2 separate regions of the Homo sapiens genome follow, and region 1 is linked to region 2. Evidence: promoter capture Hi-C in 16 types of primary human blood cells and fetal thymus (Javierre and others, 2016). All regions are on one chromosome and are shown on one strand. The core of a region is centred on a gene start or on the middle of the fragment in contact, and the rest is flanking DNA. Distances in the headings are between cores, read along the strand shown. Region 1 holds the start of KLHL28 (kelch like family member 28). Region 2 holds the start of HECTD1 (HECT domain E3 ubiquitin protein ligase 1).

Region 1 (2,910 bases), core at 348-2,847, about 14 Mb after region 2:
TGAAAATTCTGATCCAACATAAACTGGCACTGTAATGTGTACATCATTGTCTAGGTTAGTTTGAACTGGGTTCCTCAAGTCTGGGCAATACATGACTAGAAGTCTACACATTTGAGCTTCTTAGGTTGGAACTGTGAGAACCAGACACTTTCTCATTGACAACTGCTACAATCATTTCTTGTTTTTCACCTCCCTGTCTTTAACCTGTCCCTAAAATGAAACATGCTAGCTAAACCTAATTTAGGCAGATTCATTTAAACACGAAAATGGCTCATTAAAACCAAAGTAACAGCCTAGAATTTAAACCAAAACATAGGATGTATATTTACACAGCCTCATTTACATTATAGTCTATTCCCCACCCCCACCCCCCCAAAAACAAAACAAAACAAAACTGATATTCAAATCGTACTTTAAGGCAAAAATCCAGAAATTATTTTTGCACTTGCATCAGCTGGGAGCATTATTTATAAAGCTGTTTGGCATATGTGACTCATTTATTCCAAGACTTTAAAAAGTATTTAAGAGAAATCCCACCTGGTACAGAGCAGGGTAGGAATACTTGCATTTGAAGTGCATAAATTTGGGTCTTCAAATGATAACTTAGACTTTTCGCACGAGTCATTCAAAAGTAATAGTATTATTCCTTCAAAAAAAAAAAATATCTCTTCCACACTCCAAAGCATTCAGGCTCACACTAGACACTCCAGCTCTTCCACTGTGTCCGTTTAAGTATCACTTATGAGGAGAAAATGCACACAAAATTCTCAGTTCGCCTAAAATAAATAAATGTCTACTATCATTCCTAAATCCACAAGGCAGAATTCTCTTAGAACCATGATGCCAAGAACTTCCACCGCAAGTGAAATTGTCTTCGCAATCTCTGTCTCTAGGAGACTGAAAGGCTGCAGAGACGCTTGAGGATCCTGCAGGGAGGCTAGGGCGGCAGACGGAGGGGGCGGAGGTTAGGGGAGAGTCCCACAGAGGAACTGCATTAGAAGGAAAGATTTTGATAACGTCTAAGGGAGAGGCGGTTAGCTACAGGGGGAAAAAAACAGACCTATTTCCATATTATGTACGTTGTAAAGAAAACGCAAAGTGATGAGGGTAAGGAAACGTTGCCAAAAACAAACAAACAAAAACAAAAAAAAATTAACCCTCTGCGGCCGGAGGGTTAAGAGAAGTCGACAAAAGGAGAAGGGGGAGGCGAATAAAGGCCCCAAAGACCAGGAATTGAAAAAAAATACCCGATTTGTGAGCTTGGCCGTGGTCCAGATCTTCTGTCCTGATAAGCAGATGGCAAGAGGAAAGGATCGCAGTTACTCAGGGTGGTAGAGAGTAACGCGTTTACAAGGGTGACGAGCCCTGCACAAGAAGATGTCGCCTCTCTTTCCACCTGCTCCGCTCAGTCCTTTGCCTCTTACTCTAGCACCAGTGGCATTCGGGCAAAACACTGCCAAAGCCTGCACCGCTGGAGGACAGCAAAAGGAAAATACCTGAGTCTCAGTAATCACACGGGCAGCGACAGGAGGAGGAACCGCGGACAACTGGAGCCTGGGCTGGATCCTCACTAGCTCCGGTCAAACCCTAACTCTTACGGGTGGGGCGGGCAACTTCCGCCCAGAGCAAGGAAAGCGTCACATCCGTCAAATGGCTTCACCCCTCCTCCCTTCTCCGCTGTAGCTGCGTTTACAACGTTCTGACTTCCTCTTCCAGGAGACTTTGGCCTAGTCTCAACACCTGACGTGGACTACATAACCCAGCATTCATCACGGCAAGTGGATTTCCGGGTCAAGAGGTCCGCGCTGGGTACATCACCATGGAAGCAATCGGTTTGGTCACGTGGTGCCCTTGGTTACGCCCGGTGGCAGCTGTGGGGTCTAGGGCTCAGACGGGGGCCATTTTGCCAGAGGCTGCCTCCCGGAGTTGGGGGCGGCCTGGCGGCAGGCTGAAGCTGTTCTTTTGCCTCTTCTGCAGCTTGGGGCTTGGAGAGGATCTGGAAGTCTGGGCTCCATCGAGCCCTTTGGAGACGGCAATGGTTTCTTCCAACCACCACCACCTGACAACCCTGCATGGCGGCTGCCCCCTCCGCGCTGCTTCTGCTGCCGCCCTTTCCAGTCCTCTCTACCTATCGGCTCCAGAGCCGCAGTCGTCCTTCCGCCCCAGAGACCGATGATAGTCGAGTTGGGGGCATTATGAGAGGAGAGAAAAACTACTACTTCCGTGGAGCTGCGGGGGACCACGGTTCCTGCCCCACTACAACTTCGCCTCTGGCCTCGGCCCTCTTGATGCCCTCGGAGGCAGTCTCAAGCAGCTGGTCTGAGTCTGGAGGCGGTTTGTCAGGGGGAGATGAAGAGGACACTCGGCTCCTTCAACTCCTCCGCACTGCCCGGGATCCTTCTGAGGCCTTCCAGGCTTTGCAAGCTGCTTTGCCGCGGCGGGGCGGTCGACTTGGCTTCCCCCGACGCAAGGAAGCTTTGTATCGGGCACTGGGCCGAGTGCTTGTGGAAGGAGGTAGTGATGAGAAGCGGCTCTGCTTGCAACTTCTCTCGGACGTTCTCCGGGGTCAGGGGGAGGCAGGCCAGCTTGAAGAGGCCTTTAGCTTAGCACTTTTGCCTCAACTAGTTGTCTCGTTACGGGAAGAGAATCCAGCCCTGCGGAAAGATGCGCTGCAGATCCTTCATATATGTCTGAAACGTAGTCCTGGAGAGGTGCTGAGAACGCTTATACAACAAGGACTGGAAAGTACCGATGCCCGACTTAGAGCTTCCACAGCACTACTGCTTCCCATCTTGCTTACTACTGAGGACTTGTTGCTTGGTCTGGATCTCACCGAGGTGATAATATCCCTAGCCCGAAAGCTTGGTGATCAGGAGACAGAAGAAGAATCTGAGACAGCTTTCTCCGCAC
Region 2 (2,885 bases), core at 364-2,863:
AAACCAGTTTTGCACAAGAGTATATAAGCTGATTAGGTTGCTGCTTAACTAGAAACCAGAGCTGTCTGTGTCAAAGACAGTCAGTCAAGCTTCAGGTCCCACTACTGCTATCACTAAAGTCTATGCCAAAAGGCAAAGAACACCTAACTAAAGGTTCTGTTTTTTCCAGCAAACTTCATCCCCCTCCTTCTCTACCCAAAACTGATCTTCAGATAAGGGTTAGATTCAGTATTTTGAGGAAACTCTAAACACCTTGATCCAATCCCCCTCCAAATTGTTTCTCCTTCAAAATTACCTCCAATTTCACATATTCTGCTGACTTCTCAATTTACTTCTATTTTAAAGATATCCAAATACAAACGACAATTATATACAAGATTTATCTATGAATAAAGAGTTGGTTAGGAATTTTGGCAGTCTTGGCAACTATTCTTAAAAGTTAAAAAAATAAAAAAATTAAAAAAGGAAAGGCTAAAAGTAAATGCAATGGACCAGCAGGTTACGGATCCGAACGAATGTAGGCCAACCTAGGGCCCTCTTTCCCCAGCTTCACAAGATAGGGCAGTTGGTTAAAAAAACAAAAACAAAACCGAGAAGCAACCCCAACAGGTAAGTCATTACAAAAGCGCCCCGTAAGCGCCCTGACTGGAGGACAGCTTTGGGTCCCACGTAACGCAGCCGCAAGTGTGGGAAGCCGGCGGCGGGGCGCGGTGGGCACCCAACGGCGGCGACCAGCGGGGTTGACCCCACACCCGGGGCCCGGCCGAGCCGGGCGCTGAGAGGCGCTGGCCCCCGCGCTGTGGTTCCCCAGCACCAAACCCCGCTAAGTTAACTACCTGTGTCTACGAGGAAGGGAAGTTCTGGAGAAGCAGCAGCAAGCCTTCGTGCCCGAGAGGAGGCCGCCGGGCCAGGCAGGGCGCCGGCTCTCCCGGGAGCTGCGCCCGGAACTCGAAGGCCTGGCAGCGAACCCTTCTCAAGGGCAAAAGGAGCCGGCCTGAGGCTCTGGCGCGGGCAACCGGGCCCCGCCGCCGGCAGGGCCCCGGGAGGGGAACAAAGGGGCCAGCGGGGAAGTCGGCAGCAGCCTGGCCGACCTCACTCGGCGCCGGGGTCTCGCTTTCCGCCACTCGCCGGGCGTCCGGGATCCGCGCCCCCACGCAGGGCCCTTCCGACGGTCCGAGGCGCTCCCGCCTCCCCTTCCCGCAGGCTCTTACTCGGGCTTGTCGTTCCAAACCGCTCCGATCCAGCTCCCAACAGGCCGCCGGCAGAGCCAGGCCCGGCCGCGGCCCTAGAGTTCCCAAGAAGCCGCAGGCCGCGCAGGTCGAACCGGGCAGGCGGCACAGGAAAAGCCGCGCCTCGTCCCTCCCCTTCCTCCGCGAGGACCTGGTGACAGGGAAGCGAGAGGTTCTCGCGTGCGGCAGCAGCCAGCGGACGTCCAGTCCCCAGCACGCGGCTCCTCAGGCCCTGCAACTCAGAGGCCCGCGCGGTGCTGCGGGCGACGGCGGCGGCGGCGCGGCGGGGAGGCCCAGTCCATCGCGAACCGGGAGGGGGAGGGGAGGAGGGTCGAGGGAGAGCCAGGCGGGGAAGCTGCCGAGGGCAGCCGAGCCCGGCGGAGGCGGAGCAAATCCACTCCCCCGGCGGCGACCCCGCCGGCGGCCACCTGGGGCGCTGCGGGACGGCCGACCGCCGCGCAGGGGCGCCAAACCGGGTACGCCGCGTCGCCGTCCCTGCCCCGGAGCTCTCGCCCCCGCCGCCTCGGGCTGTGTCGTACGTTTCTGCCGCGGCTTTTCTATGGTGCGCCCTGGCCCCCTTTTCGCTTCCCTGTCAGTCCGAGCGCGCTCATGCACGCACGTCCAGCTTGCTTGGCGCCGTGGCTAACACTTTGCGCGCTCCTGCGGAGGGCGTCGCACGGCACAGCACAGCAAAGCTGCGGCCCAACCTGTCCCCGCTGAGCCTTCCGCCCAGGCCACCCGCACTCAGCCACGATCTTCCCTCCTCGCGCACGGAAGTGCGTCGCGTAAGGAAGGCGTCTCCCCCCGCTCCTGGGAGGCCGACCGCCTGGCGGTTCACCCCAAAGAAAACCCTTCAGAGCAACCCTGGGAAAGAGGTGCTGCCGACGATTATCAACGTTGTACAGATGAGACACTGAGGCTCCAGGAAAGCGCAAATGCAGGCCCAGCGCCGTGCCCGGTCGGCAGCAGCACTGAGAGTGCACTTTTGACTACGTTTCTTGTGGCTTGTGGTCACAAGTATGTCTGTGGTTATTCTTTTCAAACTTTATTTCACACGCATTCAGAATAAAGGATGCATGCTTATAGGACGTAGTTGGAGCCCGGAGACGTCCTACTGTACTCTCACTTTCAGCTTTTAAACAAAAAGAAAAATTAATACGACATGATAGTGTTTGAGACATGGTCCCTCAGGCAACCAGAGGAGCTGCTAGGTATGAGTAAAGAACAGAATTTGGGTCCGCTGCGTTTCCTGTAATCCCAGCACTTTATGATTTTACTCTCTTGAGGCCCGGAGTTCGAGACCAGCCTGAGCAACATAGACCTGGTCTCTGCAAAAAAATTAAAATTTAAAAAATAATTACCCAGATGCGGTGACGCACACCTATGGTCCCAGCTACTGGAGCGGTTGAGATGGGATGATCCCTCGAGCCCAAGAAATTGAGGCTGCAGTGAGCTTTGATAATGCCACCTCACTCCAGCCTGGGCGACTAAGCAAATTTGTCATTTCCAAAATACTGGTTCTTTTTTTTCTTTCTTTTTTACTACTTCTTTAGAAAAAGAACCAGTATTTTGGAAATGACAAATTTGTACTTCAGATAGCTATCCGCGCATGTCCCGTTGTCGCAGGTAATGGTCCGTTTAGGTATCCTGTTAACG

The links. The method cuts DNA at HindIII sites, captures the fragments that hold promoters and counts their contacts. A CHiCAGO score of 5 or more calls a contact.
Region 1: a contact is called between the fragment with the promoter of KLHL28 here and the fragment with the promoter of HECTD1 in region 2, in 2 of 17 cell types (non-activated CD4 T cells and naive CD8 T cells). The highest score is 6.2, in non-activated CD4 T cells.

Annotation. Positions count from the first base shown.
Region 1 is chr14:44,960,350-44,963,259 of GRCh38, forward strand. KLHL28 (kelch like family member 28) reads right to left here and starts at 1,598. Exons shown (of 5, transcript NM_017658.5): 1 at 1,497-1,598. It overlaps TOGARAM1 (TOG array regulator of axonemal microtubules 1), which reads left to right and starts at 1,841. Exons shown (of 20, transcript NM_001308120.2): 1 at 1,841-2,910. The coding sequence starts at 2,073. RefSeq lists enhancers at 665-754, 1,269-1,783, 1,325-2,134, 1,784-2,298. The HindIII fragment of the contact is 5,188 bases long and covers 1-2,473 here.
Region 2 is chr14:31,206,180-31,209,064 of GRCh38, forward strand. HECTD1 (HECT domain E3 ubiquitin protein ligase 1) reads right to left here and starts at 1,614. Exons shown (of 43, transcript NM_015382.4): 1 at 837-1,614. RefSeq lists enhancers at 506-1,019, 1,532-2,043, 2,021-2,190, 2,044-2,555 and silencers at 661-870, 991-1,200, 1,501-1,840. The HindIII fragment of the contact is 4,913 bases long and covers 88-2,885 here.